Regions from separate parts of the Homo sapiens genome. Here region 2 is linked to region 1. The links are contacts of gene promoters, found by promoter capture Hi-C in blood cells and fetal thymus (Javierre and others, 2016). All regions are on one chromosome and are shown on one strand. The core of a region is centred on a gene start or on the middle of the fragment in contact, and the rest is flanking DNA. Distances in the headings are between cores, read along the strand shown. Region 1 holds the start of SEC23B (SEC23 homolog B, COPII component). Region 2 holds the start of KIZ (kizuna centrosomal protein).

The links. Contacts are between HindIII fragments. The CHiCAGO score rates a contact against its expected background, and 5 or more counts as called.
Region 2: a fragment that was not itself captured here is called in contact with the fragment with the promoter of SEC23B in region 1 in 1 of 17 cell types (fetal thymus); the score reaches 6.1 in fetal thymus.

Annotation. Positions count from the first base shown.
Region 1 is chr20:18,503,201-18,510,631 of GRCh38, reverse strand. It overlaps SEC23B (SEC23 homolog B, COPII component), which reads right to left and starts at 2,692. Exons shown (of 20, transcript NM_006363.6): 1 at 2,660-2,692. It also overlaps the pseudogene RPS19P1. RefSeq lists enhancers at 2,422-2,471, 2,822-3,151. The HindIII fragment of the contact is 4,172 bases long and covers 1-3,402 here.
Region 2 is chr20:21,123,373-21,130,815 of GRCh38, reverse strand. KIZ (kizuna centrosomal protein) reads right to left here and starts at 4,734. Exons shown (of 13, transcript NM_018474.6): 1 at 4,612-4,734. The coding sequence starts at 4,700. RefSeq lists enhancers at 4,216-4,265, 5,166-5,265 and a silencer at 4,426-5,005. The HindIII fragment of the contact is 481 bases long and covers 5,158-5,638 here.

The DNA.
Region 1 (7,431 bases), core at 1,443-3,942:
ACCAAGCCCGGCTAATTTTTTGTATTTTTAGTAGAGGCAGGGTTTCACCATGTTGGCCAGGCTGGTCTCAAACTCCTGACCTCAGGTGATCCACCCGCCTTGGCCTTCCAAAGTGCTGGGATTACAGGCGTGACCCACTGTACCCGGCCCAACTAACACAGTGTTTCTTAAATACTTGGGAAGAACCTGTTGCTGTAGAATGACAGTATTTCTTTTCCATCTGATACCCAAAAGTCAGTTAACCGCACAGTTATCATTGATCACTGCTCCTTTCTCACCTCTCCTTTCAAGCACTTAAAAATAAATCAAAGGAGTGGGAGGTTTACAATCACCTGATCATCTCCAAACTACATGTAGTTAAACACTACTACTTCAAACCTCCTCACAGATCACACGTCCTATCAGTCAAGCCAATTTCAGCCCCTTGCTCAAGGGTAAGTCTTGAACCCTGTTTCGGCATCCAACTATCTTCCTCTCTAATCTCCTTCCTTTCTTCCTCTATTAAATTTTACATTCCAAGTGATTTTTTTTTCAGTAGCGGGGGGGTGCTCATTCCCTTCCGCACTTTGTTAACTTTGGAGAAAAGAGCTGGATACTGATCTTCAAGTTTGGTTCATAATGGGAACCAGTTTTGAGCTAAATTATTTCTACTTGGTATTACCAAAATTACTATTATGCTGAGTCTCACCAGAACCTCTTTCCTCACCACGGTTGCTTATGTTCATGCCTTGACAGGCTGTGGTCAAGGCCAGGTGTGGTGGCTCACACCTATACTCGCAGCACTTTGGGAGGCTGAGATGGGCGGATCACGAGGTCAGGAGTTCAAGACCAGCCTGGCCAACACAGTGAAACTCCGTCTCTACTAAAAATACAAAAATTAGCCAGGTGTGGTGGCACGTGCCCATAGTCCCAGCTACTCAGGAGGTTGAGGCAGGAGAATCGTCTGAACTCGGGAGGCAGAGATTGCAGTGAGGCGAGACAATGCCATTGCACAGCCTGGGCGACAGAGCCAGACTCTGTTTCAAAAAAAAAATGAAGACTGTGGTCAGTAAAACTGTCCTACAGGCTAAACTCTCAAACCCAGATGATCCCAACTTCATTGAGTATTTATACATCCTGTTCATATCCTAAAATCTAGGGTAACACACAACTCAGCTATTGGGGTTCAAGGGAACAAGCCCCTCAAGAAAAGTAGTAAAAAGGCAAATTAAAGAGTCTATCAAATTAAAGTGGCCTCTCGCGCCCACTTCCTGAATATGGATAACAACTGTCTGTTATTTTGGGAAGTACCATACTGTAAATAATTTTGATTAAGGCAATAATATTGCATGGCTAGAAAAGCAAATGAATTACTCTACTACATAAAGCCCAGAACACAAGAATTCCAATGTTTGCTCCAACTGAAACTCTAAGAAATCTGTTTATTTCTGGCAACGGCAAGAACCTGAAGCACTGTGTGCACAGGAAGCACTCTGGAGCTTCATGGGAAGCAAAGGGATAACTAAAGTCGGAATGAAAGCAAGTTCTATCACAACTCTCAGCAAGTATGTCAGCAGATTTCATTAAATAACCGTCTCTCTCTCAAAACGTTCTTTATTAAAAGGCACTGGCGGCCGGGCGCGGTGGCTCACGCCTGTAATCCCAGCACTTTGGGCGACCGAGGCCGGTGGATGACCTGAGGTCAGGAATTCAAGACCAGCCTGGCCAACATGGCAAAACCCCGTCTCTACTAAAAATACAAAAATTAGCTGGGCGTGGTGGCAGGTGCCTGTAATCCCAGCTACTCGGGAGGCTGCGGCAGGGAGGACTGCTTGACCTTGGGAGGCATTGGTTGCAGTGAGCCGAGATCACGCCACTGCACTCCAGCCTGGGCGACAGAGCGAGACTCCATCTCAAAAAAAAAAAAAAAAAAAAAGAAGCTACTGCCTCCATCTAATGGTTTCCAAGCATGTACAGCCTAAGACCTGCTCCCTCCTTTTCCTACTGCCTGTTTCCCTCACCCTTCTAGGGTCTGGATTCTTAGCAGTGGACACATAATCCAAGGGGACTATAGAAGGTCCACTAATCATCTGAAGTTATGCGCATGAGGGAATATGCCGTTTTTCTAGGGAGATGGGTCCATAGCTTTTACCAAAGTATCGGGGAAGGTATCTGAAGAGGTAAATAACTGAAAGTATGAATTAGTGAATGAATGAAAGGCCTGGAAAGATAACAGGAGAATATGCCAAAAAATCTGAACCACCCTTATCGCGCCAACTCGTAACTTCTCAGGACACAGTGACCATGTGTATGTAAGAATAAGTGAGGTTTAATCCTTGAAGGGAGTCCAAGGACCTGGGTTCCAGTTCCAGCTGTCATGAAGCAAAAGTCGTTTCACTTGTCTGAGTCTTGAGTTTCTCAACTATAAAACGGGACTTGGGTCCTTCCAGGTGTGCGCACTCCGCAATTCTGGGGAAACTGGAGCCAGAAATCGGTCCCGGCCTGGTGCGGGACGACATCCGCAGGGGACTCCCGGATCATCCATTCCCCCGCTACCCTAAACTGTCAAGAAAAGGCCTCCTCCCAGAAGCCGCTCACCTCGCCCCCGGCAGAAACTCATACCCGTGCCCTCGGCCCTCCGTCACCTATGCGCCCCGCTCACCTGGCCGGAGCCGCTCACCTAGCTAGAGCCGTCCTCACCCACAGCTGCAACAAGCAGGCTCCGGCTCCCACCGCCAAGTCCAGCTCAGCTCTCAACCGATTGGCCAGCGCCCCAGCGCGTCATGCCACGGCGCTGTCCACTGGCCAATCAAAGAGCGCTTCTCCGACGGACTGGAGGAAGCGAGAGACTCAGAGAAGCTCTGCCACCATCTTGGAACAGGGCAAGACAGGTGTATGTCGCACTTCAAAACGAGAGTTCCTCGGAACACGTTTCCCCACCCCTAAACGTTTCTGTTTCAGAAAACCCCGGCGCCTGCCGCACCGTTGCCTAAGCGCAGCCAGCGCTCCTCAGAGGTTCGCCCTGATACAATATGACATCCGCTCGTCTCAGTGGGAAGTCCCGCTGATCGCCTTAGCTACCGGAAAGCGAGAACGATGACGTATGCTCGCGGAACAGGGAGCTGCACTGGTTGGAAGAAACTAAGGCTGCCGGAAGAAGGCATTAGCATGCGGAAGGGGCGGGGCGGGTGGTGAGCGCGGCGGCGCTTACGCACTTGCTGGTTTGGGAGTCGGTCTCTGTGGTTAAGTTTGAAGTACAGAGGTGTGGTGGTGCTTCACGTTACAAGCTCTCCTACCGTCGCTTGCTGTAATGTCTTGGCGCTCTCAGCGGAGGCTGGCACTAGCGCACAGTCCCTGTCATCCTTCTACATGGAGATAAATAATTGAGAACTGTAATATTCAACCATTTTAGGAGAGTAAGCTTAGAAATACATGGAACATAACTTTCTTTTAAAAAATAATTCCAACGTTTAGATTTAGGGGGTACACTGCGTATTTGTTACCTGGCTATGAGGTTTCGAATTCGAATGAGCTGGTCACCCAGATACTGAGCATAGTACCCAAGTTTTTCAGCCCCTCCCTGCCTCCCTCCCCACTCTAGTAGTCCCCAGCGTCTATTAATGTCACCTTTGTGTCCATGTGTGCCCAATGCTTAGCTCCCACTTTCAAGTGAGAACATGTATTTGGTTTTCTGCTTCTGCGTTAATTCTTTTAGGATCATGGCCTCCAGATGCATCCATGTTGCTGCAAAAGGCGCGATAGAACACAACTGTATAAAGCCACCACAACCATTTTTACACACGCTGACAAGTGGCAAACATGAACACATCATTACTGTGACTCAGAGTTGTAGTCTCTGTAGCATATAAAAATAAGCAAAACGATGTAAACATAAAATTATGCAAGAACATATCTAGGCATCCAAGAAGTATCCATTAATTAGCTCAATTTAATACTAAGTTTTAAGTTATCTACAGATCATAGAAATTATTAATAGTTTAAGGCACAAAGAAACAATTACTGTTAAATGTGAGAATGATTCAGTTTTGTTGAACAAATTCACATTTTTCAGGATCTTAAACAATGTAATGTTAATATTAGCTTATCAATAGTAAACTTTTATAAATTTAGGAAGTTCAGATTAATTATTCTCGGTAAGGAAACAAACTCAAAATGTACACATGTATAATACTTAACACTGAGAAAAGACATAGCTGGGATTTTTTTTAACCAAAACTTAATATTATTCGCCAAAGATTTGCCTTGATTATTTGAACCTGGATTCTTTCTGTACTAGCAATTTCTGTAAGAAAGATTGTTATAGGACCATCAGGTTCGATTGTCCATTGTGCGGTAACAGAAAGAATAGGAGTTGCAGCAGATAAAGAGTTCCATAATCAAGTGGCAGCCAAATGAGGAGACAAGAGCAATCCTCAAATCCACCTCCCCAAGAGATTAGAGATGGCATTTTTAAGAAGTCTGGAGGGGCAATGGGCTAAAGTGTGGGGATTTCTGATTGGTCAGGAAGTGAGAGGTGAAGTCATGGGACAGGGAGATGAAGAAACTTCATTCCAGTGTTGTTTCTTGGTGGAGGTCTTTATTTATTTATTTAAAAAAATTTTTTTTTTGTAAAGCAGGGTCTCACTTTGTTGCCCAGGCTAGTCTCAAACTCCGGGCTTCAGGCGATCCTCTCACCTTGGCCTCCCAAAGTGCTAAGATTACAGGCGTGAGCCACTGTGCCCTTCCTGGTGGGGATCCCTAGACAGTTTGGCATCAGCTGTTTTGTGGGAATTCAGGATCTGAAAAATACCTTAAGCAATTCCTGGGTACAAAGAGCTAGTGTCAGAGATTCTGTGGATAGGAGCAATCAGGGAGTAGGTGATCAGTGTGCTGCAAGGCTTTTGGTTAGTTAGCAGCTGCAGGGAAGTGAATTGAAGGGCACCAATGCACCCTGGTCAGTGCCTAACTAACCTGCCTAAAGGCTGGCTTGTAATCTTGTTAACCCTGTCAGGATGGTTTCAGCATTTTTAAGAAATTTTGCATGCATAAGTTTAATTTACTTATTTTCTGGAATTTTAGAAATAATTGATTTACATGTGTTTGTTTCCATAAGTGAATTATAACAGAGCTCCTTTAAGACATGAAATAATATAACTTATTAAAACTTTACAAAGGTAGTAAGATTTTTTTACTCCCACAACAAGAGGGGAAGGCCTTTGTTGATTACAGCCGGGAAGACACATAGACACATAGCATATAGCTTTGGTTCTGCAACTTTGGCCACAGGTCGAAAGTAAATTCAGAAACATAAAAATTCAGTGGACTAGATAACAAAAAGCTGTTCTCCTTCCCAATGGGCATGGAAGTCTTAACTGATTTGAACTCATAAGTAGACAAAAAGGCAAACAAACAAAAAGACTAACAAACCAGATTTTTCATCATCTCTTATCCAAAAGAGAATAGATCTCTAAAAACTATTAATTCACTTAAAGAGATCACCAAATGTTCAGAATGTAAAACCTAGTTCCTAATTTTTTTTTTTTTTTCTGAATGAGGCAATGTATTAACCCAGCATGGTTTGTTCCAATGCTTCTTGTTGGCAGCTGCCACCTGTCCGGCAATTCTGCCCAGATCTCTCTGTCCCTGAGGTGTCAGTTTGCGGCCCCCATCTTGGTCCTTTTCCACCATTTTCAGCCCCTCCAGGGCTTGGAGGACCCGGCGGAGGACACTCTTGAAGCCTCGGCCGAAGTGGCTGGGCATGACGCCGTTTCTCTGACGTCCCCATAGATCTTGGTCATGGAGCCAACCCCAGCGCCACCCTGGAGGTACAGGTGCCGCGCTGTGGAACCGGCTCGTGTGTAGAACCAGTTCTCAACGTAGGGAGGAAGCTCTTTGTGCTTGGCCAGCTTGACGGTGTCCACCCATTCGGGGACTTTCAGCTTCCCGGACTTTTTGAGAAAGGCTGCCAGAGCTCTGACGAAGTCCCGCTGGTTCACGTGGTTTACAGGAACTCCAGGCATCGTGCGGCTTCCGCGCTGCCAGCCAGGGGAAAGGGAGCAACGGGGTTTCCCGCGAGTTCCTAATTGGTGTCGCCATTCATGGGGAAAAATCCGCCAGCTGTGGGCGAATCAGAAACAAAACCCAAAATCAGTAAGGAGGAGAAAGAAACCTAGGGAGAAAGTCAGCAACGCTGTAGTACTATTGCTACTTGGTATTCACTCCCGGAGCCAGGAAAAAATGTGCTTGGGCTTAGCCCCATGGGGTGTTCTTCAGTAATGTGGTTTACCTGGTTCTGTCAGGTGAATCCATTGGGATGTTGGTGAAAGCTTCAAAACTGTTAAAGTGTTTCAAAAGGTAAAATTATGGCCTTCATGCAAATATAAAATGAACATGTGCCAAAGATCTTACTTAACTCATTCATTGATTTTAATTAATCCCTACGACCAGGAGGGATGTTCAGACTGGTTCTAAGGAGAATTTGATTTATAGTGACATATTCTCTATCACACAAAATTGATTTGCATTGCTGTGGACAGGAATAGTTTTCATTGTTGTGGGCAGGGAACATTTGCATTACTATCTTCTATAAGTTAATTTCTATCTCTACAGAGTTGTAAAATAGCATACTCAAAGGCAGAGGTACATCCCTCCTACGGCAAATGACCCAGGGGATTTTTTGTTTTTGAAACGAAGTCTCGCTCTGTCGCCAGGCTGGAGTGCAGTGGCGCGATCTCAGTTCACTGCAACCTCCACATCCCGGCTTCAAGCGATTCTCCTGCCTCAGCCTCCCGAGTAGCTGGGACTATAGGTGCACACGACCATGCCTAGCTAATTTTTGTAATTTTAGTAGAGACAGGGTTTCACCATGTTGCCCAGAATGGTCTCGATCTCTTGACCTCATGATCTGCCCGCCTCGGCCTCCCAAAGTGCTGGGATTACAGGCATGAGCCACCACTCCCGGCCCCCAGAGAGTCTTTTAAAAATGCACAGCACTCCACAGAAAGTTCACCCAGTAACCTCTTTTGACTATTTCAAAATCTTTCATAATTTTTCTGACATATTATCATCATCTGTAGCCTGAGTCTAAATTCTTTTATTTATTTTATTTTATTATTATTATTTTGAGATGGAGTCTCTCTCTGTTGCCCAAGCTGGAGTGCAGTGGCACGATCTTGGCTCACTGCAACCTCTGCCCCTGGGTTCAAGCGATTCTCCTGCCTCAGTCTCGTGAGTGGCTGGGATTACAGGCGCAGGCCACCACACCTGGCTAATTTTTGTGTTTTTAGTAGGGGTTTCGCCATGTTGGCCAGGCCGGTGTCGAACTCCTGACCTCAGGTGATCTGCCCACCTCGGCCTCCCAAAGTGCTGGGATTACAGGTGTGAGCCACCACGCTCAGCCTAAATTCTGTATTTCTGGGTCAGACTTTTCTACCTAACATCCGATTCAAATAT
Region 2 (7,443 bases), core at 4,149-6,648, 2.6 Mb before region 1:
CACTGTTAGCTACATTACAGGTTACATAACTTTCTTTCCTTTGCATAATGTTAAATGGAAACTACTATTTAACCAAAATTCATTTAATGGGAATATGGGGTCCAAAATCCAGACACAGAATCTTCACTTGGGGAACACAACCCATGGGTTGCAGTATGCCTATGTTAAAAAGAAAAAAAAAAGATTAAAAGGAAAAAAATTACAAAAACACACATTTTTAACTAATAGCATCACAAATCTTTACCTTCTCACTAGTAAGAGTGAACTTAGAATAGAAGTGAAGGAAACATAGCATAATTGCTTCCACATTAGAAATTTTTATTAGTTACCATTCCCCCCCTAGAGTTTCATGATCAATTGGGTACTTGGTTCATGCAGAATGAATGACTGGATAGTGTGAGCAACTTGTCATTAAATTACAAAGAAAGGAAGACCTCTGAATACATCTATGACCCCATGCCCTGAGGTAGTGCTTCATTTCTGTTGTATTCCTAAGAAAGCACGACTGCAGTCTGGTAATGAGACACCATCAGATAGACTCAGCTTGAGGGTCACCCTCTAGAATGAAAGCTGTACTCTATGAACTTGTCAGGAACATGAAAGACAGGGAAAGACTGAGGAATCGTTCCAGATGTAGGGAGACTGAAGAGACATGCCAGCCAAATGCAACCGCGGTTTGCAGGTGAGCCACTGGACCAGGGGGAAAAAAAAGGGAGCATCGTTAAGATAGCTGGTGAAATCTGATGCAGTCTGCGGACTGGTTTCACCACTAGGAGGGCTGTATGGTGTGATCATGTACAAGAACATCCTTGGCTTTTGGAAACACACATTGAAGATTTTAGGAGTGATGAGGCATCATATATGCACTTCTCAAACAGATCAGAAAAGGCTAATGGTTTTAGATAGACAGATTTAAATAGATACCCAACTGATATCTCAGTGTCAAAAATCTAATAAAATGTTAATAGTTGAGGGATCTGGGTGACAGGAACACTGGAGGTCTTTGTCCTATATTCGCAACTTTTTTGTAAGCTAGAATTTACTTTAAAAAATATATATATATATACACACATTTTTTTTTTTTGAGATGGAGTCTCACTCTGTTGCCCAAGCTGGAGTACAATGGCACAATCTCAGCTCACTGCAACCTCTCCCTCCTGGGTTTAAGGGATTCTGTTTCAGTTTCCCAAGTAGCTAGGATTACAGGCATGCGCCACCACACCCAATTAATTTTTGTATTTTTAGTAGAGACGGGGTTTTGCCATGTTGGCCAGGCTGGTCTCAAACTCCTCACCTCAGGTGATCCACCCGCCTCTGCCTCTCAAAGTGCCGGGATTATAGGTGTGAGCCACCACGCCCAGCCACTTTAAAATAATTTCTAAAATTCACCTATGACTTCTAGTGAAAAAGGACCACAGTCACTTTGGAAATCCACCACCTCCCAAGCAGCAAGTTCTTCTTAGTAATGAATGTAAAATTTATTTGTAAAACATCTTCAGCAGATGCAGACATCTGCTGCTCACACTTCTCTATCATAACACTTCATACCCTGATAATCAAACTCCTCTTGGCTTTCTCTCCCAGGCAAAACGGTGGTAATCTTGTTAACTCTTCTTCACAGGCCTATTTTCTAGCCCCTCATCCACACTGCAGCACCTCAGAATGCTGAGCCCTCCATGTCTTTTTAAAATTTAATACTAAAAACCAGATATTTGCCTCAATGAAAAGCCTTTCCATGGCTTGCAATTCTTACATATTAAATCTCTATTCAGAATCTTTGAAATACCCATCCCTGGGATGCTTACCCATAGTTCATGTTTTCAGTCACCCCTCACTTGGACCTTTCAGTTTTACACAGCTAAGTGGTCCTTATCTTGCTGAGTTTTCTACTTTTAAGCCACTTGTTATTCTGTTTTTGTCTCGATACCACAATTCTATACCATCTTCAGCTTACTCTACTAATATCTCAGTGTCAGTTTCTAGACTATTATGATATCTTACTCTGAATCAATATAGGCACTGAAAAAACCGCGGCTGGCTAATGGGCCCTTTTAAAAGGATGTTTTTGTATAACCGTAAGAGCCAATTCCACTTATAAGTTTCTACCATGCTTGTGGGTGCTATACACACTGTAACAAGTCACTCCATTAGACTCTTTTAGATTCAATTATTGACTTTCACCACAATGCAGAAAAAACACTGTACACACATAGGAAAACATTCAGACGATAAAATTACATCTACGTGTAACTACAGCTAACATGACTTGGGCTGGAAATATGCTGGTTATTTGACCAGCTAACATTGCAATGACCACCTCTAAAAGGGCTGAGAAAGAGGGAGTTTTTTTTTGTCTCCCACTTCCCAGAAGTTTCTGGATTGATAAAGCAGCTGTGACTACCCAGGGTTGCTCCCTATGAAATGACTCAGGAATTTTAGGAGACAGTGGTATCTGTGATCAGTGGGATGCTTTGTGTTTCTTTGTTTAAAAAGGTACAACCAAGGCCGGGTGCAGTGGCTCACACCTGTAATCCCAACACTTTGGAAGGCAGAGGCAGGCAGATCACCTGAGGTCAGGGGTTCGAGATCAGCCTGGCCAACATGGTGAAACCCCATCTCCACTAAAAATACAAAAATTAGCTGGGGTTGGTGGTGGGCGCCTGTAATCCCAGCTACTAGGGAGGCTGAGGCAGGACAATCGCTTGAACCTGGGAGGTGGGGGTTGCAGTGAGCTGAGATCATGCCATTGCACTCCAGCCTGGGTGACAGAGTGAGACTATGTTTCAAACAAATAAACAAACAAACAAAAAGGTACATCCAAACACTCAAATTGGATACAGACAATAATATTCTTTACACATTGCTTTGCAAAACTACAGCTTTCAGCTTTTTTTTCTTTTTTTACTTTAAGGCCCATTATTCTAGCAAAGAGAGAAAGAAAAAAATCTGTGGCCTTACTTTGCATATTAGTCAAGCCCCCTCATTCCTGGTAAAGAACCAAGGTTCAGAGAGGTGGAACAACCTGCTCAAGGTCACACAATTGTTCGTGGACTAGAATCCAGGTTTTGATATTTCTACTGCAGCCTTTTCTGTATCTAGAATTATTTGCCTCTATAACTGTGTCCAGTGTGCATTAATTTGAGTTAGTTATAAATTCTTAAAATGAAAAATGAACACACACAGCAACAGATTTGTACTGACTTAAAAATAAAACAAATCTCGAAATGCAGAACCGTGAACAGGCTATAAAATTTGATTCACATTCCTTATATATTTTCAACAGCCTCACCTTGTTTAATAATTAAATAAGTGTTAATCATAAAGTACATAATTATTATACAGTTATTGTGCCATAAGGACTATAAACAGCCAGGTGTTCCTAGCACAGGAAACAAAAATAACTTACAATTAATAGTTCAAAAAGAATGCCATTTATGAGTGCTGTAAGAATGCCAAGAGTCACAAAAGTTAGGGAATGGGTTGAAACAGGGAAGGCTCTACAGGAAGAGATTTCTTTTTAAAGTCAGAAATTAAGAGGTCACTGATATGGGTGAGCGGTGACATGTCAGAAAGAAAATAGGACGTAGAAAAGGAGTACAAGGTAAAAAAAATGCTAACGACAATTAAGGAAGCCTGTTGTAGATGCTCTATAAATATCTGACAAGAATTAAATCTAGCGTAAGATAAATGTAATTCCTTTTCAAAATCGCTCACTTCTGCCTTTATTTTCCATGTAATTATTGTTATCATTTTAGCACTGTCACGCACACAGCTCTCCTGTTCACTAGAATGATTTTGTAACTTTTAACACTCATTAAATGTTTTGTTTATCAAGAGATCCAAAAATGTATTTCCTTTCTTGTCAACTAATGAGAGTTACAACTCCAATTAACTTAGCAGCTAAATAAGAGGTCCAGCAATTTATCTTTTACGTGGTTATTCATAGTACATTGCGGTATAATTTTCTCTCTATATGCACTCTTAGATCTAGCTGTTTTCAGTGGTTCCCATCTTTCATATCTTAATCAAAGGCATCATGAACCCTCTGGAAGCTGGACTTCTCTAGCTGGAAATTTCATCCCTTCGCTGGAAATCTAGCCAGCCCTCGCTACCCCTAAAAGTCTCCTGAGTTTAAACGGGGGCACATGTTTGACACACACACACACAACCGTCTGCGTTCCAGGACTTGTCATCATTGATGCAGTGCAGCTGTCACGGCGGGATGGCAATTTGAAGAGAGTGGGGAGGGGGCGTGTAAAAGGGGACAAGAGAAACTCACAAGGCTTGATGGAGAGTGACAGGCAGAAGAACTCCCACCTTCACTTCTGGGCAAATTCTGTGACGCGGCCGCATCCTCAAACCGTAGACCAGGCTTTAGCTGCTATTGACGGGGCGGGGGCGGTCTCTCACCTCTCTCCGCTCCCACCCCCAATACAGGGGGTGGCTCTAGTAAACACTGTCCTCCAGGCCCCACTGGGAGCCTGGGGGGCGTTGCGCGCGGGCCTGGGCCCCGGGGAACCTCGGACGGGGGAGCGGGAAGGAAAATGGGGCAGGGCACGCGGAAGACCCCCGGCGCGGGCCGACTCCCCACCCCCGCCCCAGTGCCCTTACCTGTCCCGCAGCCCGTGCTGGAGTTGGCCCAGCCTCTCGTAGTAGTCGGGACTCGACAGGGGCACGGCCGATGCGAGGGTCCGGCTCATGCTGCTGCCGCTGCGCCAGCTCAGCACAGCCTCTGGGTGGCCGTTCGGCCGGGGTTGCCGAAGGAGACCGCCCCACCATGCACCGCGGGTAAACACCGCGCCGGGCCGCCTGCAGGAGGCGGGGCAAGACGCCGTGGGGGCGGGGCGCCGCTGAGGGACGGGGCGGAAGCCGGCTTTGTGGGGGGCGGGACGAAGACCTGCATGGGGCGGGGAAGAGGCGTGGCAGAGGCGGGGCGTCGTGAGGCCGGGGCGGACCACGTCGGAGGGGCGGGCGCTCGGTGCCCTCTCCTCTCTCCCTTGACGCGGTGTCTCCTTTCCCCTCACCTTCCAGGATTCGCACAAGCTACGTTAATGTTACAAGGCGCATTCCCTCCCTTTCTTTCGTCTCTCGCTTGCTTCTTTTCCTCGATCTCCTTTCTTGCCAGGATTTGTTGAGTGCCAGGCACTGTACTAAGCTTGTTCTATTATATCAGCACTCAAAAGCGACACAAAACACCAAGTAAAAAAAGACAAACCCTCAAATGCTAAACAGCCGTGCTCAGCCCCGACAGTGGACCAACCCCTTACTCGAAAATCCGTGCTGAATCTAAGGATTGTTCCAGGTGCCAGTATCGTTGGCGAGAGGGAAAAGTTGATAACTAGTTGCTTGGGAAGCAGACGTTTGTGCAGACAGCTCTAAGGGACAATGCTCCTAATGTCCTGTAGGATCCTCTAGCAGGAGCCCGGGAGCCAGACTGCCTGGGTGTACATTCCCTATCCACGTCCCAGCTGCCAAGCCGTGTGCAAGTCACCCCAGGTTTCCTCATATGTAAAGTGGGAGGCTGTTAACACAGGATTAGTTTAGGATTCGATTGTTAATATGTGTTAGTGTTTATAAGTGGGCCCAGCACATAGAAAGCATCAGGTTTTATTATCATCACCAACGTCGGGAAAAAGCTTCCTGAAGGAAGCCAACCATATTTCAAAACCCACTGGGCAGAAAAATTAAGCCTTAGCCTGCTTCTCTGCCTTCCTTTCCTTTTTTTTTTTTTTTTTTTTGAGACAGAGTCTCACTCTGTTGCCCAGGCTGGAGTGCAGTGGCGTGATCTCGGCTCACTGCAAGCTCTGCCTCCCGGGTTCAAAAGATTCTCGTGCCTCAGCCTCCTGAATAACTGGGATTACAGGTGTGCGCTACCACACCCAGATAATTTTTGTTTTTTTTGGTATTTTTTATATTTTAAGGAGAGACGGGGTTTCACCATGTTGGCCAGGCTGGTCTTGAACTCCCAACCTCAGGTGATCCACCCACCTTGGCCTCCCAAAGTGTTAGGATTACTTGCATGAGCCACCATGCCCGGCCTGTAGAGTTTCTTTAGTCTCTTATTGTTCACTTCTTTTGGTTTCTTTCCTATGCCATTAATTTTACTTACACATACAAGGTGCAAGGTGTGACAAACTAAAATTGTAAGAGAGATGGAACACTCAAAGGCCAACAACACAAAACTATGATTTTACTCAGCCTTCCATTCACATTTGCCAGTTCCAGGGCAAGAGTGTGAATGGAGGCCCTCATACCATCCGCCTAAATATTGAATTATAATTCAAGATAACAAACTTAGGTAAAATACGTGTTCTCCTCTCCACTTTGACCAATATGCCTTCTTAAGAACCTGGACAACCAGGGTGGAATTTAGTTTGCCTGCTTCTCCAGCTCCCCCCAACTCCATTTCCCACCCCAGGCTCAGTCTTGCTTTGTGAGGGGGTCTCATACACTAGCAGGGATGTGTGTGCCCTGCCTCTTCTCCTCCTCTTCTCCAGCCAGCAAGTCCCAACTCTGCCTACATCCCCACCTCAGCCTCCTCTTGGCCGGGCAGTGAGCATGCCAGTGATGGTCACCCTTGCAGGAAAGACCCAGCCAAGAGGCCTTTTAAAGCCTTAGAAAGCAGCTTGGGCCCCTTTGAGCAGGGAAGGTAAGGGTGTTGGGTACTTAGAACGTGTTCTAGAAGAGCATGTGTGTGTATGTGTGTGAGCACCCCAGGTGGGCCTGTCATCTGGCCCTGGGACCTCCTTGCCTTGCGTGGAGCAGCATGGGCAGAGAAGGGCTAGAACAGAACCTCTAATACACAGAAGCCAGGGCAGAGGCCTTCTTGCCCTGGTCCAAGGGTAGCACTGATGTGACTTTTATTTAGTTTTTATTCAGATTATATCCAATTGATTCAGTGGTAATGTGCAAAGGTTTATTTTAATGAGTTTAGTGTAACTAACATTTTACTACAACCCTGGCAAAGAAAAGAAAAGCATTAAATTTTTAGGATATTTTATTTAGGACCATGCCCCCAGGGTTAGTTTTTTTTTTTAAGAAAAAGAATCCCCAAACAATTAATATAACTAATTTTAGCAAGTAGCACAGAGTAAGCAGATGAGGCAGTCATTTAGCACCCAAAATTTTTATTAGGCCATTTTAGGAGAATCTAAAATTAAATGTAATTAAACAGTAAATAGATAATTCAAAATAATTATAATTTACATCCTATGGTTGATTCATTAATGACGTATGACAAATCTAGATGTAGGATCTCCTTTATTAACAATAACACATAGCAAACAAAAGGAATATTTCTAGAGTATTTATGCTAAAATTATGCATTTTAAATGGTGACAGGCTTTCAATAAATTCTGAGTTCTTCACTTTGAATATTTAATTTGCCAGAGCCCTCTATTTTAATATTTTTCTTCAAACTCTTTATTTAGCTGAGCTGATTTC